Regions from separate parts of the Homo sapiens genome. Here regions 2, 3, 4, 5, 6 and 7 are each linked to region 1. Evidence: promoter capture Hi-C in 16 types of primary human blood cells and fetal thymus (Javierre and others, 2016). All regions are on one chromosome and are shown on one strand. The core of a region is centred on a gene start or on the middle of the fragment in contact, and the rest is flanking DNA. Distances in the headings are between cores, read along the strand shown.

The links. Contacts are between HindIII fragments. The CHiCAGO score rates a contact against its expected background, and 5 or more counts as called.
Region 2: a fragment that was not itself captured here is called in contact with the fragment with the promoter of ATP5MC2 in region 1 in 1 of 17 cell types (neutrophils); the score reaches 5.5 in neutrophils.
Region 3: a contact is called between the fragment with the promoter of NFE2 here and the fragment with the promoter of ATP5MC2 in region 1, in 10 of 17 cell types (erythroblasts, neutrophils, total B cells and 7 more). The highest score is 13.6, in erythroblasts.
Region 4: a contact is called between the fragment with the promoter of CBX5 here and the fragment with the promoter of ATP5MC2 in region 1, in 4 of 17 cell types (erythroblasts, M2 macrophages, monocytes and 1 more). The highest score is 6.2, in erythroblasts.
Region 5: a contact is called between a fragment that was not itself captured here and the fragment with the promoter of ATP5MC2 in region 1, in 1 of 17 cell types (neutrophils). The highest score is 5.0, in neutrophils.
Region 6: a fragment that was not itself captured here is called in contact with the fragment with the promoter of ATP5MC2 in region 1 in 1 of 17 cell types (naive B cells); the score reaches 5.4 in naive B cells.
Region 7: the fragment with the promoter of SMUG1 here is called in contact with the fragment with the promoter of ATP5MC2 in region 1 in 3 of 17 cell types (total B cells, M1 macrophages and naive B cells); the score reaches 7.2 in total B cells.

Annotation. Positions count from the first base shown.
Region 1 is chr12:53,674,400-53,678,305 of GRCh38, forward strand. It overlaps ATP5MC2 (ATP synthase membrane subunit c locus 2), which reads right to left and starts at 1,684. Exons shown (of 5, transcript NM_005176.7): 1 at 1,654-1,684. RefSeq lists enhancers at 1,386-1,835, 1,946-2,175. The HindIII fragment of the contact is 5,549 bases long and covers 1-3,874 here.
Region 2 is chr12:53,017,959-53,021,864 of GRCh38, forward strand. EIF4B (eukaryotic translation initiation factor 4B) reads left to right here. Exons shown (of 15, transcript NM_001417.7): 3 at 840-1,048; 4 at 1,952-2,068; 5 at 3,848-3,902. Among named protein-coding and RNA genes, the nearest start is that of EIF4B, 13 kb to the left of the region's middle. The HindIII fragment of the contact is 2,938 bases long and covers 676-3,613 here.
Region 3 is chr12:54,299,136-54,303,041 of GRCh38, forward strand. NFE2 (nuclear factor, erythroid 2) reads right to left here and starts at 1,880. Exons shown (of 3, transcript NM_001136023.3): 1 at 1,666-1,880. RefSeq lists a cis regulatory region at 1,652-2,626 and an enhancer at 2,027-2,767. The HindIII fragment of the contact is 10,882 bases long and covers 1-3,906 here.
Region 4 is chr12:54,277,908-54,281,813 of GRCh38, forward strand. It overlaps CBX5 (chromobox 5), which reads right to left and starts at 2,215. Exons shown (of 5, transcript NM_012117.3): 1 at 2,101-2,215. It overlaps HNRNPA1 (heterogeneous nuclear ribonucleoprotein A1), which reads left to right and starts at 2,819. Exons shown (of 11, transcript NM_031157.4): 1 at 2,819-2,915; 2 at 3,479-3,595; 3 at 3,888-3,906. The coding sequence starts at 2,901. SCAT2 (S-phase cancer associated transcript 2) reads left to right here. Exons shown (of 2, transcript NR_157844.1): 2 at 745-1,156. RefSeq lists enhancers at 1,578-1,667, 1,820-2,579, 2,098-2,147, 2,438-2,527, 2,538-2,597 and 1 more and a cis regulatory region at 1,614-3,906. The HindIII fragment of the contact is 6,592 bases long and covers 1-3,839 here.
Region 5 is chr12:53,081,723-53,085,628 of GRCh38, forward strand. No RefSeq gene overlaps it. Among named protein-coding and RNA genes, the nearest start is that of SPRYD3, 4.3 kb to the left of the region's middle. The HindIII fragment of the contact is 7,282 bases long and covers 1-3,906 here.
Region 6 is chr12:54,215,572-54,219,477 of GRCh38, forward strand. No RefSeq gene overlaps it. Among named protein-coding and RNA genes, the nearest start is that of MIR3198-2, 14 kb to the right of the region's middle. RefSeq lists silencers at 429-614, 2,416-2,465. The HindIII fragment of the contact is 1,635 bases long and covers 1,295-2,929 here.
Region 7 is chr12:54,186,721-54,190,626 of GRCh38, forward strand. SMUG1 (single-strand-selective monofunctional uracil-DNA glycosylase 1) reads right to left here and starts at 2,265. Exons shown (of 4, transcript NM_001243787.2): 1 at 2,231-2,265; 2 at 1,099-1,182. It overlaps LOC105369777 (a long non-coding RNA gene), which reads left to right and starts at 2,377. Exons shown (of 3, transcript XR_944984.2): 1 at 2,377-2,482; 2 at 3,728-3,814. The HindIII fragment of the contact is 2,636 bases long and covers 1-2,576 here.

The DNA.
Region 1 (3,906 bases), core at 434-2,933:
TTTCCCAGATGATTATTAGGTATACTTAACGCAAGAGCGTGACCCTAAACCCAGTCTTGAAACTGTGGTAGTGGTAGAGGATAGACTTGAACTTGGATCTTTTAAGTTACATGCTTTCTAATATGTCACAGGCTGAAATACTCAGTGAATGCTTAGGGCTATTAAATACCACTTCATTAAATGAACTGAACTCAGATTGTCCCAGGTTAAAACACTTCTGAATCCAACATCTTAATTGCTCTTAATTTATTTTTTGCCCAGGCTATTGTGGAACTCCTGGCATCAAAAGATCTTCCCACCTTGGCCTCCCAGTGTTGGGATTACAGGTGTGAGCCACCACACCCAGCCTTAATTACTTTTAAGTTAATGGATGTCTTCAACTCTTGTCCTATCTAGAACTCTGATTTTTGCCTATATGTAACTCTAACCCAATTTTGCTGCCGTACTATTCAGGTTTTCTTGGGTCAAAATCCAATAGTTCTTTAAGGCTTTTAGAAAAAGAAGGGGTGGTTCTTTTCTAAGGGAATTATACCTTATTATCTTCTTTGTAAAATGCAGCTCTTAGGGGGATTAAGTATGTTCATTTACAAATTAACATACATAAAGAGTTTAATGTGGTGCTGGCATATAATAAACCCACAACAAGGGGTGGCAATTAAGTGATCCCACCATTGGCTATCTAACCATGGCAACTCTGCAATTGTTAGCCTACAACTTGGGCAAAGGCACTATCCAGAATCAGGACTCCAAAATCATCACGGGCTTTTTCCTCAGTGTAGATGAGTCACAGGGGTAGTAACTTAACTATTCCTTTCCTTAAACCTTCTTTTCCTTGTAACAGCAGAATCTGGGGAGGTTAATTAATCCTTCACAGGAAAGCTGGCAGGCAGGGTCTCATGCTGGCCCCACTAGCTTGGCCTTACCCCACCTTTCTGGGCCTGCTGCCTCAACAGAAACCCTCATCTCTAGCCCACCATTTGTGACTTTTACAACTTCACCAGCGTGCCGGGATGCGAGAAAGGTACTGGTAAATAACTAGTGATTCCAAAGCAACCAGCCTCTCTCTTCTGCCTTAGCTATCCCAAGCCACAACCTAACGGGAGGCGATGTTTTGGCTTTTTTTCCCACTTCTACCATGTTCAAGGTTTACTTTTTAAATTGAGGGGTGCTGACTAGAGGGATTGGTGACTTTAGACGATCCACTATCTCCATTGCTCGGAGCACCTGAGGTTCTGGGGCCTAAAGTCTGGAGATTTCAGAATAAAGAAGGCACAAGTCAGGATGAGAAGAGAAAGCAGAGATAGGAGGGGAGAGCCTGGGGGTTGTCACAATCTGAAAGGGCCAGAGGGCGAGAAAAGAGTGTTTGCAGGGACTGGGTGGAACAGGTGAAAAGCAGCACTCCAGGATCTAACTTTGGCCAGCTCCAAGGTATCCTCCCCCTGCGAGACATCCAAGATGGCGCCAGGCCCGCGCGGTTGGAGGTCACCGGCACGCGGAAGAGCCAACTCTAAGGCTAAGGGATAGCGGAAGCAAGAAAGGGCGAGAGGACCAGGGTGGGAGCACGCAAGGTAAGCGCCTCAAAGCATCCGCGCAAGGTGAGGTGTCCCGCGCGCGTGCGCAGCGCACAGAGGGCTCTAGGTCCCAAGGCCTTACCTGCTCCCACTGCAGAGAAGACAGAGAGGGGCGGAGCAGCGGGAAGAGCGAAAGGAAGGCTCAGCGCATGCGTGACCCGGGCCAACGAGTCGCTCAGCCACGGATAGAGTGATTGCAACATACAGGATCAGCTCAGGCATCACAGCGCCGCCTGCCAGGGCTGTGGCGGTATCCGGCCGGTTGCTCCACCTGGCGTTCGAGAGGAGAAACTACAGGGAGCGCCGACTGCAGAAATGAGGCCAACTCCGCGGAGTAAGCCGATCCGTAACGTGGACTGCGGTTTGGTCTGTACCGCGTTTGGGATCTCGGACTTGCGTCCCCTTTCCGAGCATGCGCAGTCGTCACACTGCCAAAACAAAACTCCTACTCAGAATTCAGTGTTAACATACGGTCGGGATTGGGGTTCAGTGCCTAAAATGCAGCAGGAGGAAGATCTTGGGAGTCCTGCTTTCTGTCGCGCCGGGACTCTGGCATCACTGGATGGCAAACCGGCTCCATGGGCGAATAGTCAGCAAAATGCCGCAGCTGCTTCTGGTGGCTTCGCCCTTTCCCCCACTCCCCGTTTCCTCCTTTCCATTCCGGTGATAAACCATGAGAGAAGCAGCATCAGCGAGCCAGAAGATAGGGTTAAATATGATCCGAATCCCTCTTTCCTGGCTCCTGGGACAGTCTAGGAATAACGGGCACCTGCGACCCGCTGTAAGGTTGCGAGGTCACTCCAGGCTTGCCCGAGCCTCTGCTCAGGTTTCAACTACGCGAGTTGGGATAAGCAGCGCCCTCCCCTCCCGCCCCCATGCTCTCCTGAACGTGGGTTTTCTCTCCCCTTTCGCTCGCCCTTCCCCTGATGGAAGGAGGTGGGGGAGGCTTCCTGGCCCTCATCTTTCCTAGGCCTCCTTGTCTCCCAGACAGGACCTGCCCTGCCCTTTGGAACAGGGCGACAAGGCCTATCCAGTTCCAAACCCCTGCCGTCCCTGCATCGTGCTTGAACGCAGCACGAGAAAGACGGGAAAAGCTCACCAAACCCCATAAAAAATAAAAAATAAAAAGAAAGCCGCGGCTGTAAATAAAGGCAAATCCGCCACTCTCTGAGGGGCCGTTTGTCCTCCCCTCCTTGGCCCCGTCCTTCCCGCCGCCCCCTCCCGGCTCCCGGGCCCCGCGGCGCCCCGGCCCCGAGCTCCTCCATTTAATCGGATTTGGGAGAAGGGGAGGATAAATCACGGCAGCAGCTTTACGGTCCCGGAGGAGAGGCGAGCCGCAGACAGGCACACCCCGGCCGGCGATAAAAACCGCCGCTGAAAGCCCACGGAGCAATTTCCCGGGACCCCGAGCGACGCCATTACAGGAATGTAATTTTGCCCGGATGAGGCCCCGAGTTTAATTATCCTCGCGGAGGAATTTCAATGCGGCCAATCCATCTTGCAGGCGGGCGGCAGAGGGATTTATATGGGCCCGTTATTTCACACCGATCCTCCATCTGCATTTTTATGGCCCTGAGCTCCTGAAAGGGAGGGGAAGGAGTGGGGAGAAATAGGAGAAGCGGGCGAGAAGAGGAGGGTGGTAGACTGCCTGTCTTTCCTAAATTCGCATTTCCAGCTCCATCAGGATTCTCACAGGTTCCTCTGAAATCCCCAAATCTCCAGTTTTAGTTGTTGATTGCGCCCCGAGCGGGCAGGTACGTGGGAAATGGAACTGGGATCTTTGGGAATCAATCAACAGGTATTTATCAAGTACCAAGTGGTGCCAGGCACTGTGGAGATGCTGTTAGGAGAAAGACAGGCTAGCAAAGACACAAGTTTATCCCCTGAGGTCTCCAGACATCTCCATTCCCACCAAAACGGAATTCTTTTAAGCTGTCAGCTTCACATCCTCAGTGGCAGAGAAAGTCCACAGTTCTTAGGAGCCACCACCCCCAAACGGCTGTTGCAGCTGTTGCGACAATTTAGACACTCAGATATGGCTAACAATCCCAGAGGAGGATCAGAGAAGGGGCCTGGGAGGAAGCTAAAGCTGGCTCTTTCCAAAAGTTGTTACAGCCTGCGATGTTTAACACTCCCTTGCCCTCATAGAATAATGGGTTCTGCGTTCAGACAAATCTGGGTTCCCAAATTGCTGTGTGATCTTGAGCTAGCTGTTTAACCCCCTCTAAATCTATTTCCTCCTATGTAAATTGAGAAGAATAATAGTACTTATCACACAGCCAATATTGGGATAATACATATGAAGCTTTTAGCAAGGTACTTGGTACCCAGTAAG
Region 2 (3,906 bases), core at 895-3,394, 660 kb before region 1:
AGTGCTGTAGGAAAAGATTTTTGTTGTGATATTTTTGTTTGTTTGTTTTCAGATGGAGTCTCACTCTGTCGCCCAGGTTGTAGTGCAGTGGCACAATATCTTGGCCCACTGCAACTGCCGCCTCCCGGTTCAATAGATTGTCCTGTCTCAGCCTCCCAAGTAGATGGGATTACTGGCACATGCCACCACACCTGGCTAATTTTTGTATTTTTAGTAGAGACAGGGTTTCACCATAATGGTCAGGCTGGTCTCAAACCTGACCTCAGGTGATCACCCACCTTGGCCTCCCGAAGTGTTGGGATTATAGGTGTGAGCCACCGAGCCAGGCCTGTTGTTGTTTTTAAGGGAGGATAGACCATGCAGAAAAATACTCAACTTCAAACTCACCACTAGGAATACAAGAGTTGTCAGTAGTGGTTAAATATACCTGGAGTAAGAGGGACCCAGGTTTGAATCCTAGCTTTACCGTCTGTGACCTTGGGCAAATTACTGTCTGAAATCTGAGTTTGCTTTTCTGTAGAATGGGGGACAACCTCACAGGACTGTTAAAAAGATAAGATGGGATATAATGAATATAAAGTAGCTGGCACACAGTAATATTCCATAAAGAGTTGTATTTATGGAATAATATTTCTTTGCTTACATAAAGATTAAGGTGTCATAATTAATCTCAGAAGCTTCTCTTCGTAAAGTGCCCTTATTACTGAACCCCCACTTTTTTTGGTCTGGTTTTCTTGTATAGCATGTTTAATATTTGGCAATTAACATGGGTCCTCTTGTTCTATGACAGTAGTGAGAGAAGTTTCTTCTAATTTCTTACATTCATTCCTCTATCCTAGTTTCGACCACTTGGCACAGTAACGATGACGATGTGTATAGGGCGCCTCCAATTGACCGTTCCATCCTTCCCACTGCTCCACGGGCTGCTCGGGAACCCAATATCGACCGGAGCCGTCTTCCCAAATCGCCACCCTACACTGCTTTTCTAGGAAACCTACCCTATGATGTTACAGAAGAGTCAATTAAGGAATTCTTTCGAGGATTAAATGTAAGTGTAAAAGTTGTAATAATTAACTAGATATTGAGGATAATGTCTAAAAAAGACTAATTGTGGAATGGGCAGTTGCTGTTGAAAAAACAACTAGAAATATAATTTAAGGCCGGGAATGGTGGCTCACGCCTGTAATCCCAGCACTCTGGGAGTCTGAGGCGGGTGGATCATTTGAGGTCAGGAATTCGAGTCCAGCCTGGCTAACGTGGTGAGACCCTGTCTCTACTAAGAATACAAAAATTAGCTGGGCGTGGTGGTACACGTCTGTAATCCCAGCTACTTGGGAGGCTGAGGTAGGAGAATTGCTTGAACCTGGAAGACGGAGGTTGTGGTGAGCCGAGATTGCGCCATTGCACTCCAGCCTGGGCAACAAGAGTGAAACACCATCTCAAAGAAAAAAAATAAAATCAAAATTATATATATATATATTTTTTTTTTTTCTTTTTTTTTTTTTTTTTTTTTTTTGAGACAGAGTCTCATTCTGTCATCCAGGCTGGAGTACAGTGGATTACATGCCCAGCTAATTTTTTGTATTTAGTAGAGATAGGGTTGCACTATGTTGGTCAGGCTGGTCTTGAACTCCTGACCTCAGAGGATCCACCTGCTTCGGCCTCCCAAAGTGCTGGGACTACAGGCATGAGCCACTGCACCTGGCCTGAATTAATCTTTTTTTTTTTTTTTTTAGAGTTAAATTCATACAGTTCAAAATTCAGAAGGTATAATAGGGCATTTAGTAAAGTTTCTACTATCCCTCTGCATCAGTTTTCCTCCTGAGACAACCATGTTCTTGTGTATTCAGAAAAATTCATGCACATACAGTAATGCTTTTGTAGTCCTCTCAAAAAATGACAAATGAAGAAGAATGCTGGGAAACTTTGTTGTTGATTCTTATTCCTTCAGATCAGTGCAGTGCGTTTACCACGTGAACCCAGCAATCCAGAGAGGTTGAAAGGTTTTGGTTATGCTGAATTTGAGGACCTGGATTCCCTGCTCAGTGCCCTGAGTCTCAATGAAGAGGTAAAGAAAATAAGAGTGGGGATATGAGGGGTGTAAGTTCACAAATCTCATGTTTATTGATCAAACTGGTATTTTTTAGGTTGAGAGGCTCACTTCAAAGATTCCCATATCTACAAATAAAGGCCTGCATTATTTAACAGTGTATCACTTAACATCGAACATCTAGCAAGTCACACTTCAGCAAATTCAGTAGGCCCCAATAATTTAGATAGGTACTTAGGTGGAAAGTTGTGGAAGAAACCCACCACACACCAGGTCTCTAATTAAGTCTTACACTGATTTACCCACAGTGTTGCCTCAACTCTTATGGCATTGCTTTTTCAAAGTAATCTGGCCTGATAAAGGCAAATAGAAAAATCAAGTTTGTTTAGTATTAAAGGCATATCTCATTTTCAGGGAAGTGTTGTAATGGTATATTTGTTCATTTAAGAGGATTTGGAAACATTTCCTACAAAGGAATATTTTACAGGAGAGTGACAATAAATATCTAGTCCTTCTGCTTGTCAACACTGCCCACAAAGGTTTTCCTGTCCCAGGACTTGAGGGGCTTATATCTCAGAAGAAAAAAGACTTTTTTCCTCCTTTAACTCCAAAAACACCTTATTGTTTATTGATAAGGCAATTTCTAGTGCCATTTGTGCCATATTTCTGTAGTCCTATTTTGCCATATGACATGATTGAAATCAACACCTCTTAGAAATAGTTTTGCTGCCTCATAATTGATTACCATCATGATAACCTGTAGTCAGTGTGAAATAGAGATAAAAATTAATGTACTTAGTTAAATGCATATGAAGGTCTAATCTTGTTCCAGAGTTACTCTTACTGGATTATTTTTAGATTTTTATTAACATTACTGGTCTCTAACTTTACTCAGTCTGGATAAGAAAAAGAATACCATGCAATTGTTAACTATTTGATGTTTACTAGATTAACTATTAATATATTGTTGTGGTCCATAGTTAAGAGTTACTTTGTTACTAGAGATTTCATTATAGTGGTGTTTAATATAGTTTTGGGTATTTTTAACTAAAAATCATTGTTATCCTTCAACTGTAGATTCTACTATGAAATGAGGAAAAATCAGCAATAGAATTAATTGGGTTCAAAGTATATAAATAATGATGTGGGAAAGGGAAGTCAGAGGGTATCTCTGGAAGAACTGATTTATCTGAAGGTAATACTGAGTGAAAGAACCTAAGATTGTAGACAAAGCATGCTTTATGCAATTTTGCTGGTACATAGTAGTAGTAGAGGCTCTATAAATGTGTTGGGTGTTTTTGTTTTTAAGAGACAGTGTCTCGCTATATTGCCCAGGCTGGATTTGAACTCCTGGGCTTAAGTGATCCTCCAGCCTCAGCCTCCCAAATAGCTGAGACTGTAGGTACATGCCACTGCACCTGGCTTCTATAAATTTTGATAAATAATTGTTGTGGCACCAAATATGCCTTTTATTCAGCTAGTTATGTGAGAATTATTTTTAATTTACTACACTTGACAAATTACCTTGGATAGTTAAAAAGTTAATTCTATTCTGTGAAATTAAGCTTTGTAAAAATAGTATAATTGACCTAATATTCAAGGCCAGCTTAAATTTGTTTAACTTTTAAGTCTTTTAAAGGACTCTTTAGCCCACAAATTGGAGTGTTAGCTAGATTACAGTGTTTTCCTTTATCTTCCTTCCCCTAGTGCTTCTGCTATGCCCAGACGTTCAAGGTCACTCAAGGGATTTGTGCATAATGGGGCAAAAGGTTGGTTAATATGGTCCTATGCTCTCAGTCTCTAGGTAACAGGAGAATTCGAGTGGACGTTGCTGATCAAGCACAGGATAAAGGTAA
Region 3 (3,906 bases), core at 630-3,129, 620 kb after region 1:
CAGCTCTTGGGTGCAGTAGCAAGTTTGTACCAGGTGGCAGGTGGAGCAGGATGCTTTTCCCTAGACGCTCAAGGATGGATGGTGTTCTATACACCAGGCATAGGGTCCCTCTGGGTTTCCAGAGCCTACCTTTCAGAGGACAGCAGAGCTGGCAGGCAGTGGGATAGATCAGGGAGATAGATAGAATTGGATCAAATAGAACACCATAGAGGGTATAGAAACTGGGGAGATACTGGGAAAGTGAAGTGGGCTTCCCTGTGTTCCCTTTCTTTTACAATAAGAAGCTCCCACTTTACAGTTTAGCTTTTGCATTTTGGGGTCACACCACCATCTTACTCCCACTGGGTTGTCTGTTCCTTCTCTTACTCCCCAACATTATGGATTAGGTAGAAATGGGGTTGTCACCAGGGACTAAAGTCCATCCTCCTTACTCTTAGCCTGGTGGTCCTACCCAGAAAGATTTTTATCATAATCCCTAAGTACTCACAGAATGATACGGAGCTTCATGATTAGGAATACAGAGTGAGGACTATTCGGAGAGGGATGATGGAGAGAGGAATACATTTGGCCTTAGCTGCTGCCCCAGGGCTCTTAACTTCCTTAACGAGGGGGAACGATGAGAGGGGGCTTGCCTCAGGATCCCTTTTCTGAGGCTTATTTGACCACCTCACCTCTCCAGGTGTCAATAGGTGCAGTGAAAGGATGAGGAGGGATTAGTAAAACTTGGGGTATTGGTTAACCGGTAAGCAACCTATTTAGAAAGATTAGGGAGAACTCCCGAAGAGAGAGAGACACACAGAGATGAGACAGAATGAAGGGGAAAAAAAGGAGGGAGAGAGATTTAAGCATAGTGAGCTCAGTGCCCTAGGGACATGCATGACTCAAACAAATGTGTGAGAACAAAGAAGAGGGGGACGAGTTTCTGCTATTGTGTCACTTCATCCCTGGACCCCAAACTCCAGTCCTTTGGTACCGATGTCTAGGGGATCCCAGCCCCAGCAGTTCTGATACCTCCTCTCTTCTCTTCCACTGCTTCCCAAGCCCCTATTTCCCAAGCAGCCAAGAGTTCCAGTTAGAAGCAACTATGCTGGGGTTGGGATGTCTTCCTTCTCCCTCCAGGTCCAGCTGATCTCTACTGCCCCTGGGCACAGAGAAGAGAAAGGGCAAAGGAGCCAACAACCCAGAGGCAATCTCCCATCCAACCCCCGCACCTTGCAACACTTCTCAGAGGTTCAGATATCCAGTGTTTCCAATTCCTCAGCTTTCCCTAAACCTTCTCAGCTGCCTAGACAGGGCAGAGTAATGGAATGGAGTTGGGGAAAGGGTAGTCTATTGGTTCCCTCAGGGTAGCCCACCAGTTGAAGGATTCCTCCTGGCTACTCCCCAGCCCCTCAGCGGTGCCTTGCCTCTGGAGACCCCTCTCTGATCCCCATTCACAGCCTCCACCCCAAGGATCCCAGAGCACCCAAGAAACCACTTAGGTCTTCTCCTAGAGGAGTTCCCAAATATGTCAGATTCCTAAACCAGGGGCAATCTAGAAAGTCTGAGGTCTCCTAGGATACCGAAAGTTGGTTATTTTCCCCCCTCACCTCCTTCACCCCCCAGCCTGCCCCTCGGATCTCACTGGAATCCGCCCCCCCCACACACACCCTGCCTTTCAGGCACCTGTGGTGGAGTCACAGCAGGGTGAGGAGAGAGATGAGGCTCCCGGTGTTGTCTCTGGGGAGGCTGAGCCTGAGCTGACACTGCTGGACGAGGATCCCGGCTACCTTTGAGAATCTGCGAGGACCGCGCCCCGCCCCCGGGCCATTGCTGAGCGCTGAGTGTGGAAGCTCAGGCTGAGCTGAGCACAGGAGCCCCAAGCAGGCGCACCAGCGTCTGAAGCCCTCGGCCTGAGTTCTCAGTCCTTCCTCCAACCCTCCCCTTTCCCCGTGGCTCTCCTCTCCTCCTGCCCCTTTCGGCCAAGAGAGGAAACTTGAGCCCGATGTGGTTTCTGCCCACACCCCGCCCCCACCTTGCTCCTGGCCAGCGGGGGCACACATGGCTCCAAGCCTCTCCCAGCCCTCCTTTTCAGCCCAGGAGTCCAGCCAGGTCTGCGTTTCTCCCATGCATTTGACGAATTCCAACCTGATGGTCCACTCGAATGTGACCTTTAAACTTTATACAGGTTGTCGTCGCCTTGTGTCCCCACGGCTCTCCTAGGGACAGGGAAACTGAGTCATATCAAGGTGGAAGGCAGCTGAAGGTAAGGACCAGGTGTCTAGCTTCCCAGCTGTCTAGGCAGTTGGACGTTTAGGGTATAGCCTTCATTTACAGAAAACCTGGGCTCTGGGAACAAGGGCAGGGGAACTATTTGGAGGAGGAGGGGCAACTGACTGCTTTGATGTGTCCTTTCACCTGTAGCCTTCTCCCCTCCCCCCTCAGCCTCAGAAGTCCCAGGACAAAGGATTCTTTCTTGGCCAGGTTTTTGTCAGTGTGTGAAGGGAGTTAGGTGGGGGGCCACCCAGCAGGGAGATTATTCACCTCCCGTAAAGGGGACCCCAGGTGTCCTTTGTCCTCCTTTCTCCCAGGCAAAGCACCCCAGCCACATGGCACCCAACTCTGTTAGGCCAGTAAGTACCCTTATTCATCTTTTTTTTTTTTTTTTTCCAGAGAGGGGCTCACTCTGTCTCCCAGGCTGGAGTGCAGTGGTGTGAACATGTTTCACTACAGTCTCAAACTCCCAGGCTTAAGCAATCCTCCCACCTCAGCCTCCCAAGTAGCTGGTTCTATGGGTCAGTGCAACCATGCCCAGCTAATTTTTTTTTTTTTTTTTTTTTTTGGTAGAAGTGGTGTCTCACTATATTGCCTTGGCTGGTATTGAATTCTTGGGCTCAAGCAATCCTCCCCTCTTGGCCTCCCAAAGTGCTGGGATTACAGGCATGAGCCACCTCACCCAGCCCACTTATTCATCTTTTTGCCTGCAAGCTACACCACCAAAGCCCCAGGTCAAACATCTTTCTCCACAGACTGTGAGAAAAGAGCCTTTCTTCCTCCTAATTTGTAATGGCTTTCAGCTCTATATGTCTAGCTTCAATCCTGACATCTGCAGCTTACATTTTTTCTTCTTACAATGTTCAAGTTAAATTAGAAACATCTGAAGACTGGGGAAGCAGATAGGTGCCACTCTGGAGTAGGACTGGCATTCAACCAGCATGCTCTGATGGGATTGTATTTGCTGTTAAAATAATGAAAATGTTCAGTCCTAGTTGATAAAAGGCAGCTGCTGTGAGCCCTCTAAGTGTCCCCCACGACTCCACCAATAGCCTAGTTCTCCTCTAAGATCCCCAACAACCCAGCAACACAACCATGGAAGTAAAGAGGCAATGCTGGTACCATAAGGAGCCTCCTGTGCTGCCTGCTTCTGCTGGAATTGGCCAATGCCCATGCCAAACCTATGGTTAAATGCTTTGAATTCCATCCCTTTTCCAGTAGATCATGACTGCACATGCATGATCAAGGTAAGACAGGAGGCAATCCAATGCCTTCATTACATGTTACATGTGGGTTCAGAATCTCTTCAGACTTGGGCATGAATCTGGGTCACATATGTAGGCTCTCAGATATAATTCTCTCATTTGCATATTTATTTGGGCCACTCAGAGGGGATGAAGAATGGTAACAGTCACACTTGTGGCTGACTATATAATGATATCAGGTTATAGATAGTCAACAAACATTTATTGAATAAGAATTATCAGTTCAGGATACTGGTGTTGCATAGACAATTATGGGTAACACAAGGCTCATCATTCATTCATTCAACAAATATTTATTGAGTGTCTACTATGTTTTACATCCCAGGAACACAAAGATGAGCAAGACAGTCTGTATCTTCAGTCAAGTCTAGTCAGGGAATTACATTAA
Region 4 (3,906 bases), core at 965-3,464, 600 kb after region 1:
ATAATCATCTCACACTGCACCCTTGACCTCCTGAACTCAAGCCTCCTACCTCAGCCTCAGCTTCCAGAGTAGCTGGGACTACAGGAACACGAAACTGTGCCCTGCATACTCCAGTATTTTAAATGAATGGTTTTCAACCAAGGGAGATTTTATCCCCCATCCCTACCTCCCCGGACATTTGGCAATGTCTGGAAACAATCTGTCACAAATGGGGATGTGGCGAGTGATGCGATGTTACTGGCATACAGTGGGTAGAGGCCAGGAATGTTGCTAAATATTTTACTATGCACAGGACACTCCGAGCACCCTCAACAAAGAATTATCTGCCTCAAAATACCAACAGTGCTAATGCTGAGAAACCTTGCTGTAGGTCAAGACTGTATTCCTTCCAAACCTAAATAAATCCAGGACAGATACCCTTAACCAGTATCACTTTAGTTCTCAGAAGCTCAGCAACTCCATTACTAGCATACCTACAAATAGGTTTACAGCCAGGTATAAATTATAGGTTTGTCCTTTTGCTAGTGCCAGAGAACATGGAAATCTCTCCTCTGTTCATAAACTGCTATTAAAATCGTCTGTCTTTGGTATAAAGTCGGAAAGGTCTCTAATTATAAGTGTATTTCATAGGTAGTTGATTTTCAGTATTTAAATATTTTCCCTTGATCCTGAATAAATTATTGAATAAAGCAGTAAGACTCTGATACAGCCAATGTTATCAAAATTTATTTATTTCTCCAAAAGATCCTGGAATAAGCAGAGTGGGCATTACCAAAAGGAGATAGACTGCATGTAAAACACACTTCGAAGGAAATCTAATTAAAAGGCAAGGAATAATCCAGGTGATGGATGAATCTTCTGTCCCCAGAACCCTAAATATTACCCTCTTTGTTTCTTTTTTATTCCAAAGTCAGATATCCTCAAAGGAACAGCAAAAAGAGGGACTTTAGGATATCTTCAATGGTGTAAAGAAAAGAAATATATGAAAGTTCCCGGGAGAAAGAGACTAAAATAAAAGCACTGGGCACATGGATTACATAAAACAGAAAAGGGGTTGTAAGTATGTGATTATGACTAGAAACACAAAACAATCGACTTCATTTTTTATTTAATTTTAATCACAAATTATTAACCTTGCAAAGTTTTAAACATTAAAGATCTAATCTGCCTCGATCCTACTGTGTCCCTAGGATTGACACTTTGGTGTGTAGCTTTCCAAAACTTTTCTGTGGACCTACAAACATATTTGTCAGTAGAAATATGCACTATCAGGAAGGAGATATTTCTTGAACGCCTTTCCATGACAGTACATAGAGATTTCTCCCATTCGTTCTAACATTTTAACAGTCTTCCTAAAGAAGCGACTTCTGAAAGTATTATTTAAAAACAAACAAACAAAAAAAAACAACTCCTGTTCCCCAAACCTCAAGTGGTGAGGGGGCGGGGGAAAAATGCTCAAGTCGAGGAATACAGGAGCAAACTTACGCTTTCAAGGAGGTGTATGGGACTGAGGCCTAAAGGCTTCGTTAGAGAAGTCATCGTGGATAAAACATCCACCCTCACACGCCATTACAGGCACCGACTCCCCTTCCTCACAACCCCAAATCGAAGACCTCCCTCTTTTGGAGAGCCGATTGGACGACTGGTCCCAGCGCTTTCCTTAGGCTGTCCGTCTACTGGTTCCAGATTCGTTCCATCCGTTTAACCGCCCGATCCCGCATTCCCCATTGGAGTCAAACCGCTGCCTCCTGGAGAAGCCCAACCTACCGCGCGCTTCCTGCTCACTGGCTCAGTGAGACGCTGCTCAGAAGGGGAAAACCCGTCTCCCACATTCCGATGGCCCAAGGGCCGATCAGTCGGCAGCTCAAGGCAGACCCAATTGGCCTATACACAAGCCAGTCAAAGTCTTCGGCTGCACAGCTCCAAAGAACCTACGGGGATTAAAACATCCCGCCCCCTGTTCTTCTATTGGTTGGCCCGACCCACCGCTGCCCCTTCACTATCCCCCCACCCCGCCGTCCATTCATTTCACACAATAACGGGCCCAAATGGAGTCAGTTCAAGACCTACTATGGGTAGATAAGACTGTCTGCCACTTACCCGGGATTGAGAGTGATCACTCACGCTAACGTCTGCCCTGTTCCTGTATGGTGAGGCCGCACCACAAGCCACCACCGCCGCCGCCTTCTGCGCAACGCCAACCGCCCGCCAAAACGGATCCTTCCCTGCGCCTGCGCAACCAATCCTGGGACCGGACCTTTTTTCTCCGCCCACTACGCATGCGCAAAGCTAGGACAAACTCCCGCCAACACGCAGGCGCCGTAGGTTCACTGCCTACTCCTGCCCGCCATTTCACGTGTTCTCAGAGGCAGGTGGAACTTCTTAATGCGCCTGCGCAAAACTCGCCATTTTACTACACGTGCGGTCAACAAGAGTTCATTGCAAAAAAATTGTTACCTCCTGGCTGCTTGTCTAATACATAGTGTTAATCATGCTTTGCCAAGCGACTTGACTGTAATATTTGCGCGTGGAAGATTAAAAAGATGTTAAACACCCAAGGTAGATTCAAATGTGAATGATTGGTCGGTTGGCCAATCAGACTGGTTAACAATAACATTACTCGGGAACCAATGGACTCCAAGGGGTGGAGACGGCGTAGAACGACCGAAGGAATGACGTTACACAGCAATGTGGCACCACAGGCCAATAGCAGGGGGAAGCGATTTCAAGTATCCAATCAGAGCTGTTCCAGGGCGGAGTCTACCAATGCCGAAAGCGAGGAGGCGGGGTAAAAAAGAGAGGGCGAAGGTAGGCTGGCAGATACGTTCGTCAGCTTGCTCCTTTCTGCCCGTGGACGCCGCCGAAGAAGCATCGTTAAAGTCTCTCTTCACCCTGCCGTCATGTCTAAGTCAGAGGTGAGTTAGGCGCGCTTTCCCACTTGAATTTTTTCCTCTCCCTTTCCTGAATCGGTAAGATGCTGCTGGGTTTCGTTCCTTGCACCAGCCCATTCTACAGTTCCTTCGGTCGCTGCCACGGCCTACCCCTCCCAAAGTTCAAGTCGCCATTTTGTCCTCTTGATCGCCATGAGGCCGCTCTCCGCCAACCATGAGTTATCATGCGGGACTCGTTACTCGTAGCAAAATTCTTAGGCACACAGGATCTTTGTCTTTTTTTAAACCTTGCCTTGGTGAGCGAGTTTTCTAAAGAGCGATTAGTCCCATTGTGGAGATGCACCCCTACCGCCCAAGCCTTTGTTGCGCGTGCGTCGGAAGGCGACTAGGGACGCATGCGCTTGCGATTTCCTAGCACTCCCAACTCCAGCATACGGCCTCCCTTGATAGGCAGAAGCACGTGTCTTGTTGCGACCTGAACGAACAATAAGTGCTAGGTACACAGTTGGTGTCTAGTTTTTCTTTTCCTCGATGGAAATTGTTTCGTGTTGTAGCCCATTTAACACTTCCCCCTCCCCCCACTCTAGTCTCCTAAAGAGCCCGAACAGCTGAGGAAGCTCTTCATTGGAGGGTTGAGCTTTGAAACAACTGATGAGAGCCTGAGGAGCCATTTTGAGCAATGGGGAACGCTCACGGACTGTGTGGTAAGATTTGGAAGGGACAAAGCAGTAAAACAGCCGATTTCCTTGGCTTATCTTGGTGCAGTCTTCTCCGAATGCTTATGAAAGTAGTTAATAGCATTATAGTTAGAGCTTTGTTGGCAAAGGAACGTCCTGCTTTGATTTTAAAAGCTACCTCTTAAATCTAGGGTAGTGGGAAACTGGACGACTTTTTATAAAAGGCTGGTGTAAAGTTTCCTATTGCCCTATTCAAAGTTAAAATGACAAAAGCTTTTGCGGTCAGACTTTGTGTTACATAAATTAACACTGTTCTCAGGTAATGAGAGATCCAAACA
Region 5 (3,906 bases), core at 423-2,922, 590 kb before region 1:
GGGATTCTCCTGCCTCAGTTTCCCAAGTAGCTGGGATTATAGATGCCCGCCACCACGCCTGGCTAATTTTTGTATTTTTAGTAGAGACGGAGTTTCACTATGTTGGCCAGGCTGGTCTTGAACTCCTGCCTCAGCCTCCCAAAGTGCTGGGATTACAAGCATGAGCCACCGCGCCCAGCCCACTAATCTGCCTTTTTGTCACTATCTTAGTTAGCATTTCCTAGAATTTTATGTAAGTGGAATCATACAGTAAATCCTCTTTGAGGAGGGATGTGTCTGGCTTCTTTTGTTCAGCGTAATTACCTTGAGAGATTCATCCATATTGTTGTTTGTGTTAATAGTTTTTATTTATTTATTTATTTGGGGCAGGGTCTTGCTCTGTTGCCCAGGCTGGAGAGCAATGGCGTGATCAAGGCTTATTGCAACTTCAAACTCCTGGCCTCAAGTGATCCTCCCACCTTGGCCTCTCGATTGTTCCTTTTTATTGCTGAATAGTATGCTATTGTTGGAATATATTACAATTTATTTATTCACTTGTTGATGGACATTTGGATTTTTTCAGTTTTTGGCTATTACAAATAAAGCTATGATGAATATTCATGTACAAGTCTTTGTATGGACATATTTCATCTTCTTTTTCTTTTTATTGAGATGGAGTCTCACCCTGTCACCCAGGCTAGAGGGCAGTGGCATGATCTTGGCTCACTGCAACCTCCACCATCCAGGTTCAAGTGATTCTTGTGCCTCAGCCTCTCAAGTAGCTGGGACTACAGGCATGTGCCACCACGCCTGGCTAATTTTTTTTTTTTTGTATTTTTAGTAGAGATGGGGTTTCACCGTATTGGCCAGGCTGGTCCAGAACTCCTGACCTCACGTGATCTGCCCACCTTGGCCTCCCAAAGTGTCATTTTCTCTTAAGTAAATATCTAGGAGTGAATGGCTCAGTCACATGGTAGATGTACGGTTCTTAATTGGTTAAAAAGCATCACACTGTTTTCAGAAGTAGTTGTATCATTTTACATTCCTATCAGCAGTGTGTGAGTGTTCTAGTTGTTCCACATCCTTGCCATCACTTGGTATGGTTATTCTTTTTACTTTCAGCCTTCCTAATAGGTAGGTATCACAGTGTATGAGGGTTCCAATTTGTCTACATACTCAACAACACTTGTTATTATCTCTTTTTGATTATAGCCACTTAGTGTGAAGTGGTATCTCATTTCACTTTTGATTTCCATTTCCCTAATGACTAACGAGGTTGAGCATCTTTTCATATGCTTATTTGTCATCCATATATCTTCTCTGGTGAAGTATCTGATTAAATCACTTGCTCATTTCAAAAAATTGTTTCTTATTGCATTTTGAAAGTCTTTATATATTCTAGATTCAAATTCTTTATCAGATATGTGCTTTACAAATATTTTCTTCTAGTCTGCAGCTTGTCTTCTCATGTTTTTAACGGAGTTGTTCAGGCTGGGCATGGTGGCTCACACCTGTAATTCCAGTGCTTTGGGAGGCCAAGGCAGGGAGAATTGCTCAAACCCAGGGGTTCAACACCAGCCCTGGCAATACAGTGAGACCTGGTCTCTACAGAAAATTTAAAAATTAGCCAGTCTGTTGGCACACACTTGTAATCCTAGCTTCTTGGGAGGCTAAGATGGCAGGATCACTTGAGCCCAGGAGGCAGAGGTTGCAGTGAGCCATGGTTGTGCTGCCACTGCACTCCAGCCTGGACAACAGAGTGAGACCCTACCTCAAAAAAAAAAAAAAGTTCTGCCGGGTGCAGTGGCTCACAACTGTAATCCCAGTACTTTGGGAGGCCGAGGTGGGCAGATCACCTGAGGTCAAGGTCGGGAGTTCGACACCAACCTGACCAATATGGAGAAACCCCATCTCTACTAAAAATACAAAATTATCCAGGCGTGGTGGCGCATGCCTGTAATCCCAGCTACTCGGGAGGCTGAGGCAGGAGAATCGCTTGAACCAAGGGGGCTGAGGTTGCGGTGAGCCGAGATTGCACCATTGCACTCCAGCCTGGGCAACAAGAGTGAAATTCCCTCTAAAAAAAAAAAAAAACGGGCTGGGCATGGTGGCTCACGCCTGTAATCCTAGCACTTTGGGAGGCAGAGGTGGGTGGATTGCTTGAGCTCAGGTTTGAGACCAGCCTGACCAACATGGTGAAACCCTGTCTCTACTAAAATATAAAAAATTAGCCAGGTGTGATGGCACACACCTGTGATCCCAGCTATTAGGGAGGCTGAGACAGGAGAATCGCTTGAACCTGGGAGGCGGAGGTTGCAGTGAGCCGAGATCGTGACATTGTACTTCAGCGTGGGTGACAGAGCAAGACTCCCTCTCAAAAAACAAACAACAAAAAAAAGTTCTATGTGTTAGGTTTGCATTTAAGTCTATAATTATATAATTTAGGGTCTCATTCTATTGCCCAGACTGGAGTGTAGTGTTGCGATCTCAGCTCACTGCAACCTCCACCTCCTGGGCTCAAGCAGTCCTCTCATCTCAGCCTCCTGAGTAGCTAGGACTACAGGTGGACACCACCACAGCTGGCTAATTTTTATATTTTTTGCAGAGACAGGGTTTCACCATGTTGTTCAGACCTGATCTTAAACTCCTGGGCTCAGTGATCCACCTGCCTTAGCCCCCACCAACTGTTGGGATTACAGGTGTGAGCCATAGTGCCTGGCTCCTCTATCTGTATGTATTTGTTACTATAGCTTTATAATAAGTCTTGAAATCAGGTAATATAAGTCCTCCAACTTTCTGTTTTGCATTTCCATGTGAGATAATCAGCTTGCCAATTTCTATTGAAAAAGCCCCTGGCGGCCTGGCACAGTGGCTCACACCTGTAATCCCAGCACTTTGGGAGGCTGAGACAGGCAGATCACCTGAGGTTGGGAGTTCGAGACCAGCCTGACCAACATGGAGAAACCCCACCTCTACTAAAAATACTAAATTAGCTGGGCATGGTGGTGCATTATGCCTGTAATCCCAGCTACTCAGGAGGCTGAGGCAGGAGAATCACTTGAACCTGGGAAGTGGAGGTTGCAGTGAGCCGAGATCAAGCCATTGACCTCCAGCCTGGGCAACAAGAGCTAAACTTCGTCTCAAAAAAAAAAAAAAAAGCCCCTGGGGATTTTAATTGGTATTACATTGAATCTATTGCTCAATTTTGGAAGAATAGACATTTTAACAATATATCTTTAACAATATATCTTCTGATCCATGAACATGGTATATCTCCCCATTTATTTACATCTTTTTAAATTTGTCTCAGCAATATTTCATGGTTTTTAGAGTGTAGATATTTGTCAGGTTTATCCTTAAGTATTTCATATTTTTTACAATTTGGTTAATGTTATTTTAAAATTTCAATTTCCAGTATATAAAAATTATTGCTAGTATATAAAAGTACAATTGATTTCTATATATTGACTCTCCATATACTTGATTTTGATGTATGAAATTTAATTGCTATCTTCCTAAATGTACTCTGGCTGTTTAATATTAAATTATAGGCCCTCAGCTCAAAATTTTAGGAAAGGAAAAAAATATTTACTATATTTGATATTTTGTTCAGAGCCCAAGATACTTCTTCAACAGCTGTGCCACAGATAGGCTCTAGGAGTGCATAGCTGGCCTGCCCAAAAGGATAAGACCCAGCCCTCAAACAGCCCCAGGTTGTTTTTGGAAAGAACCCAGACTTAGGCTTGGGGTATTCTCATAGCTCAGGAAGAGGAAAGAGAGGAAATCTAGTCTTTTCATGACTTGCCAGAAATCTTTTATCTATTATTTTATTAACTTGTTTCTAACTTTTTTCTTTTTCAGCTTGTGCTGTTTGTTATAATAATATATTTCTTGTTTTTATTCCCTACCACATCCCCAACATAAGGC
Region 6 (3,906 bases), core at 862-3,361, 540 kb after region 1:
GAGGCAGGAGGATCGCTTGAACCTGGGAGGCAGAGGTTGCAGTGAGCCGAGACCGTGCCATTGCACTCCAGCCTGGACGACAAGAGCAAAACTCTGTCTCAAAAAAAAAAAAAAAAAAAAAAAGCCTAAGAAGTGAGCAAGACAGAAGTACCCATTTCACGGATCAGGACATGGGGCTTCAAACCGAGGTCACACAGCTAGGACAGTGCATGATTTAAAGCCAGGCCTCCACCCAAAACTTTATTTGGTGTCCCTACTATGTGCTAATCAAGGTGTGGTTCCTGCTCACCCAGGTCACCCAGAGAAACAAAGTAGAAGAGCCATAGGATTTCTGACCAGGCTGGCGAGAACAGGGCAAGCTTCCCAGAGGAGCCTTTTCTAGGGTTGCAGGGAGGACATTTCAGGAGCGGCCCTGAATGCGCCAAAGCTAGGGGATGGGACTGGCGAGTTGCCACGGGAGCCCACGTGAGGGTCTTCGAGGAGGTCTGCGCCACCCGGGTGCAACCCGAGGCTACGGTTCATCCAAACACACCTCGCCCCATCCGGCTGGGGAAGGACTTCCTGCAAGCCCTGAGTGGGGGTGTGTGGCGGGACCACCCAGGTGTCCATCCAGGTGGGCAGTGAGCGTGAGAGCACCTGGTCAGGAACCTCCCACCTCTCGGGCCCTGCAGCCGCTTCCGTGGGGGAAGGGCAGCCGACTTCACCTAAGCTTCCACCTACTGCATCTAACCCTTAACTGTATCTCCCGCCCCCACCACCCCTGACGGGTTCCCATTATAAGAGGGTTTCAGATAACTCACCTCCCACCCCGGGAACGACGTCATCACCCCTTCACCCTCTGCCACCACGTCTGACTCCAACGGGGAAGTCCTTCCTGGTGTCTGACCACCCTTCCTCCTGCTGCAGCTTCAGCTAAACCTAACAACTTCTGACCTCACAGGAGAAAGGGGCTGCCTTAACTTTCCTTCTCTGAGCTAAACAATCCAAATCTCCAGCCCCTTTTCCACGCTCACATCCCATTTTCCCGTTCTAACAAAGCTTTCCTTTAGGGGCCTGGATCTTCCGTTTTTCCCGCCTTCCGACGTCAGATCAATCCATGACAGCTTTCTGATTGGCTAACCCCTCCCTTCTAATTGCCCCTGTCACTTCAGAACCTCCCCTGCTGTATCAATATGTAAGTCCCACAGATGGCCTCAGTTTCCCTGGTAGGGAGTTGAGCCGCCTCTTGGCACCCTCTTGCTTTGGGAGGAGGGGTGTCCTGCTCAACTCACCCGAGTCATCTCTTCCCTGCCCAAGCTTCTGAACAGGACACTGCCACATTGTCATTCATCTGAAAAGCATTTATTGAGCGCCTACTATATGTCTGGCCCGAATTCTTGTCTCAGCTCACAGCCCTCCGGTTGCTCCATAGGCTTAGGGGAAGGAGCAGGAGATCTTGAAATGCCAATCTCCAGTCTGGAGCGTGGGGTAAGAGAACTGAAGTCGTCTGCGACTGAGTGAAGCCACCGAGGAGGGGCGGGGAGGTGGGACGCCTGCAGGTCTCGGCGCTCGGAAACCGCGGAGAGGAAGCATCGCTAGGCGCCCCACCCTCACAGCGCTCAAACCTGACGCCGGATTTCCCATTCTTAGCGCAAGGAAGACCCCTTGTGGCCATTGTGGGAAGAGTCAGCAAGGGAAAAAAAAAAAAGCGGGAAAAAAAACAAGCCAGAGCCGGGAGATGACAGCCTCAGCCCAGACTCCCTTCCAGTTCTTGCCTAGCGTGGGGACTTATTCTTTGGTCGTTGGGTGGGGGAGAGGGGGCGGGAGTTGATGCCCAGGCCCCACTCCCACACCCTCAGAACCCAACATTTGGGACTTTGGGAATAATCTTCTCACTAAACCACCCGGAAAAATAAAACAGAAACAATAGCAAATGTGACTATGGTTAGACTTCTGTAGGGACTTCTCAAGAAGCGGATGGGAGGCAGAAGGACGGGTCACAATAAAGGGATGAAAGAAATCAGGTCTTCCGGACGACCCCCTCCCTGGCTATGGGGAGGGGTAATTCTGGGAGACCCGGGCGGGTGTGGGATCATCTACCCACCCTGCGGCTCCTTCCCGCTCGCAGTGAAGGAAGGACGCTCAGACCAACAGGGGCTCAGGTATTCTGGGTGTCAGGACCCTTCCTCCTGCACGCATCTTACGCAGGGTGGGGCTGAGGGCGTGAGGGCACAAGTCATTGAGGACATGGAGGGAACCCACGCTCGTCCCGATAGATTGTCACGGTCCTGAGGCGGGACGGTCAGGACAGGGAAGATGTATTTCTTCCCCCTGCATCCCCTCCCGCACCGCGTCTGAACTCCTCTGGGAGCGCAAGAACAGTAACAATGCTGCGCCCCTTCCCCCACCCTTTGACTCCGCTCGCAACCTAGCCCGGGCCGGGCAGCGCGAATTTGCATACATTTGCATACCCAGCTGCGCACAGCTGCATTCGGCTTTGGGCCATAAATTCGTGGCTGGCGGCTCTGGGCGAGCAGGCCCCACGCGGGGCAGGCGTTCTCCCTGCGCGCCTCCGCCGCGGCTGTTCACGTCCCGGGTACTGGCGCGTTCTCACGCCTCCCTGAGTAACCGCTGGATCAGTCCTGCCCGGACCCGGCTCCCCTGGCTCGAGCCACCTTCTGGGCATGTCTGTCTCGCACTGGCGCAGGCCAAGCCTGCAATCTCAGATTCTGGTTCCTCCATTTCTCTTGGACTCGACTTGGTCAATGTCTCCTGAATGCGCTCATCTTTACCTGACGCCTTGGACCAGGGGCTTCTGGTGGGATTTTCCTGCTAGGACTGGTGCATAGCCTCTTAGGTGGTAGTCCTGCCTCTGGGGTTACCTTGCTAAAAAATTGGTCTAATGGAGGTCAACAGCTAAAAACTCTGGACTCCCAGGCTTGCAGAATAAAGCTTATATTGTTCACCCTTGCCAAAGAAAGCCCCTGACGTTCTGTCAGCATCCCCCTTCTCTAGCCTTATCTTCTGCATCATGGCCAGACTCAGGCACACAACAGCCAGCGCTTCGGTTACACAAAACTGCTCTGAGGGTCCCTAAGCTCCTCATGAGCTCTCTCACTCTGCCTGGACTTACCTGCACCTTGCTTCCACCTGGACTGCTCTTCTGCCCTCTTGTCTGTTTGACAGACACATTCTTTGAAAATCATTGCACAGACGTTCTTTCCTTTGGAAAGACCTCTGAGATTCCTCTCACCCCTGGCAATTGATAATGACATCTATTAGCACTTACTGCAAAAACATTTGGTCAGTTGCACTTACCAAATTGTGAGCTCTCACTTAAGACAGAGAATATGTCTGTTCTTTGCTGTATCCCACTTCTGGGCACAAAGTCTGAAGACCAGGAGATACTCAAATACTGAATAAATGAGTGAGGCCTTGACTATTTCAGGCACACATAGATACCCAGGGCTCTGGTGGTCCCAAGCAGCCTTTACATGACATCCCATGGAAGAGCCCCTCCTCTTGGTACTTTTTGGGTCCTTACGCATCTTGGCCCAAGATTGTGAGGGGTGAGAAACCAGGGGGATTATGAGTGGAGAGCTGATGCCGTGAAAAAGCACTGGACTCCGAGCCAAGAAGCTGAGGTTCAAACTCTGGCACCGCATGATCTTGGAGAAGTAACTGCCTCCTTCGAAGGCTGTTTCCTCACCTTAAAATGGGAATAATAGTGACTACTTAATAGGGACTTTGTAATGATGGAGCGAGAATAGTACATAAAATGCTTACTACATGTCTTAAGAGTCCAGACAGGTGACATGAGGTTCCATCTCACTCCCTTGCCCCCGAGAAGGAGAGCACCTCCACTAACAATCCAGGCCAAGAGGCTTAAGGAATTTTACCAGTATGCATTCTGCAAGAAAGTATGAG
Region 7 (3,906 bases), core at 1,015-3,514, 510 kb after region 1:
TTACCGTCGTCTTAATGAATTCCTTTTGCCTCCCCAGCTAAACTTGGGCAGATCAAGAGCCAGGCCTTGTTCAATCTCCCTCCATAAGCCCAAGGTCCTGGCCCTTATTAGGTACTCAACAAACACCTGCTCAGCAATGTCCATCTTCTTTTTCACTTTTGTTTAAAACTACCTTCTGTGCTGGGCACAGTGGCTCATGCCTGTAATCCCAGCACTTTGAGAGGCCAAGGCAGAAGAATTGCTTGAGGCCAGGAGTTCAAGACCAGCCTGGCTGACATAATGAGACCCCATCTGTAAATATAAAAATAAAATAAACAGCTTTTACCAAGGAGGCACTCCTGATGGATCCTTCTCCACTTCTATATCCTGAGTTCACTCAAGGCTTAGCTGCCCACTTTGCACTCTGCTTGTTTTCCAGACTCTGGGTCTGTGCCCATCATATGTGTGCCTCCCATGCGACAAGGACCATTGTCATTCCTTCCTCTCAACTTTCTGCCTGGGTCAGGAGTGACTTCTCCAAGATAAGAACTCAAGGTTGACACAACAGCTCGATAAACCTATTTTCTCACCCTAGCCTAGGGGAAGTGGGAGAGAAAAGAAATCAGAGGCCCAACTTAGGAAGTCCTTCCCTGACTGTCTCAGTAGTCTTTAACTGATCTGTTGTCCAGGTGGCTACCCAGGACAAACTGGGCTCATACAAAAGCTGAGAAGGGTGCTGTGGAGAACGCCAGTGTTTCAGGGGACCTTGCTTTGCATCTCCCCATGCAACACCAACATTAGCAGATTGGCTGCTCCAGCTCTAGAATCTCGAGAAGTCTTGAGCCCACCTTTGACATTTAGACACCTGTGTTGGAAACAGCAAGGCTGGGGAAAAGAGTGGCAAGATACTACTTTCATTGTTCCATAACTTCAAAGCCTGATCTCATAGCAAGAGCCACAGGCTGGAAGTCAATTGATTTGAATTCTACTCCTGTTTCATCTCTAAGAAGGTTCTCTTGAGCAACTCATTTAACTCTCTTCTCTATGGAAAATCACATACTCCATCCAACCTACCACCTGTTAACTCATTTTTTTTTTCAATACTTATGAGTCTCTTACATGACAGGCACTGCAGCAGTCTCTTGATGAGGAAGAAATCCAAAAAGAGTAAAATGTAGGCCAGGCTTTCTGTAAGCTCATAATCTGCTGTGAGGGCAAATAAACAACTAACTGTAATACAGTGTGATGTGAGCTTTAATACCCGGAACAAAACACTAAGAGAACCCAAAGGAGGAACTTGTAAGTTCTACCCAAAGTCGCCCCAAGAGCCAGAGGCTTAAGAAATGTAGATATTTTATAAAATACGGTGTCATACTACATTAAGCACAAAGACAGCGGAGTTGGACCAAGCGATAAGGCTGACCACCAAGGGCCGACTTCAGACTGATGTCAGACTTCTCTGACATCAAATCCGGGAAGTGAGGAAGGAATCGAAATCACATATGCACTCCCCTGTCCTTTGGAGGCACTCCGGGAGTCCAGGGACAATAATAAATATCCTTAAACGAAATAATAATAATAATAATAATAATAATAAATAATAATAATAATAATAATAATAATAATAATAATAATAATAATGCATAGGCCGGGCGCGGTGGCTCACACCCGTAATCCGAGCACTTTGGGAGGCCGAGGCGGGCGGATCACGAGGTCAGGACTTCGAGACCAGCCTGACCAACATGGTGAAACCCAGTCTCTACTAAATACAAAAATTAGCTGGGCATGGTGGCGCGCGCCTGTAATCCCACCTACTCGGGAGGCTGAGGCAGAAGAATCGCTTGAACCCGGGAGGCGGAGGCTGCAGTGAGCTGAGATCGCGCCATTGCACTCCAGCCTGGAATTCAGAGCAAAATTCCGTCTCAGAAAAATAAATAAATAAACAATAATAATAATAAAGCATAAACTCAAAAAGACCATTTCATCTGGTTCCAAAGGGGCCGACTACTAAGGCACCATACAAAACCTCCGGGGGCGCCCGCTGGCTCCGGCCGACTGGAAAGCCTTGATCCTGCAGACCTCCCAGGCGGTTTCATAGGCTGGGCTCTCCCTGCACTGAGTCTTACCCCATACGGAGGGAGGGACCCCAAAATATAGAAATTCTAACCACCCTCTCGGCTCAGCCCCGACGACCCTGGGAGCCGTCAACTTGCCCCCACAGTCCCGGATTCCCAGCCCCCTACTTCCTCACCTGGTCCAGCTCCCCATCCCGTTTCCGGTTCCTTTCCCCCACCCCAAACCCAACCCCCGGCGCTAAGGACAGTGGGAGTCGTAGTCTACATTGTTTAGGGAAGGAGATTGGCGTACCCGCAGCCACTTCCGCCGGAAATGCTCCAATCCCGGAAGGCGCACTAAATTAGCCCTAAAGATCGCTGGGAATTGTAGTTTAATCTTTCCATCAGCGTTAAATCAGGAAGTCTTGAGAAGTGAAAAGCCACAGCCTGTAAGTACCTAGGAAATCCTGGGTTCTATCCCTAAAGGGCATCGCCCTTCCAAAAGTTCATTCACTATTTTCCCAAAGGGATTGCAAATCAGGAAGCTTCAACCATCCCCAATCCCTCACCCACCTGAAGGTATTAACAATAGCTAAAGACCATTGCTAGGCCCCCTGCCACCGTGGGTATAAGAGACTTCTCCTTTGCAGCCTGCCATTACTTATACAGAACATCCACGAAGACATTTCTGGTAGCTCCTAACAACTTTTTAGCAAGGGGCATCCCCCATTACTGTCCAAGCCCATCTCCAGAGTGTCACCATTTTGACTTCTTTCTCTGCCTTGCTATCTGCCCAACCCTATAACCTCAGTATTAGTCAAGAGTTTTCCAGAGAACAGAACTAACAGGATATCTATCTATATGACGAGATTTATTCCAAGAATTGGCTCACAGGATTGTGGAGGCCAAGAAGTCCCACAGTCTCCCGCTCTGCTGTCTATACACTGGAGAACCAGGAAAACAGGTGGTATAATTCAGGAAAGTCCAAAGCAGGGGAGGAGGCTCACTGCTAAGTCCCAGAGCCTGAAGGACGAAGAACCAGGAACTCCAATGATGTCCAAAGGCAGGTAAAATAGATGTCCCAGCTCATGAAGAAAGAGAATTTGCCTTCCTCCACTCTTTTGTTCTACTGGCCCCCAAGGGATTGGATGGTTCCCACCCATATTAATGAGGGTGATCTTCTTAGTCTACCAATTCAAATGCAAATCTCTTCCAGAAACACTCCACAGACATATCCAGAAATAATGTTTTACCAGCTATCTGGGTGTCCCTTAGACCACTCAAGTAGACACATAAAGTTAGCTATCACTCTTCCATCCAAATCTTCTCCCTCAAATACTTTGTCCAGGAAGGCTTCCCTGATCAATCCTCATCCCATGGCTGCACCTAACAGTCCATTCCCCCACCATTCCCCCATCCCAATATCTATGTCCAAATCTGTCCTATTCCTAGTTTTGTTCTTGTGCTCTATCTGGGTCTGGTTCTGTGTCGTGACTCTAAAACTTTCATTAGACTGGGAACCCCCTAAGGTTAGTTATCTTCTATATTCCTCCCACCCCACAATCTCCACACACCTTAGCACAGCCAAGGCTCTAATCACAGAAGCAAGGTCTCCCTGTGAGTGGTAGAAAAGGAGACCTATAAACCCCAGAACAGGAAGAAGTGAGAGAAAAAGGATGCTATTCCCTTCCCAGGACTTGTCTGATCTCCTATCAACAAAAACTTAATGGGTGCAGTAGGAGCTTCAGGGAGCTGTGAGCAGTGACCTGCTGACATCAAGGGTGAGAAACTACCCTGACCCTTGCAAGACTTTGGAAATGGAATTAATCATCCACCTCATGAAGCCCATAATTTCCTGAGCTTTAATTTTTAC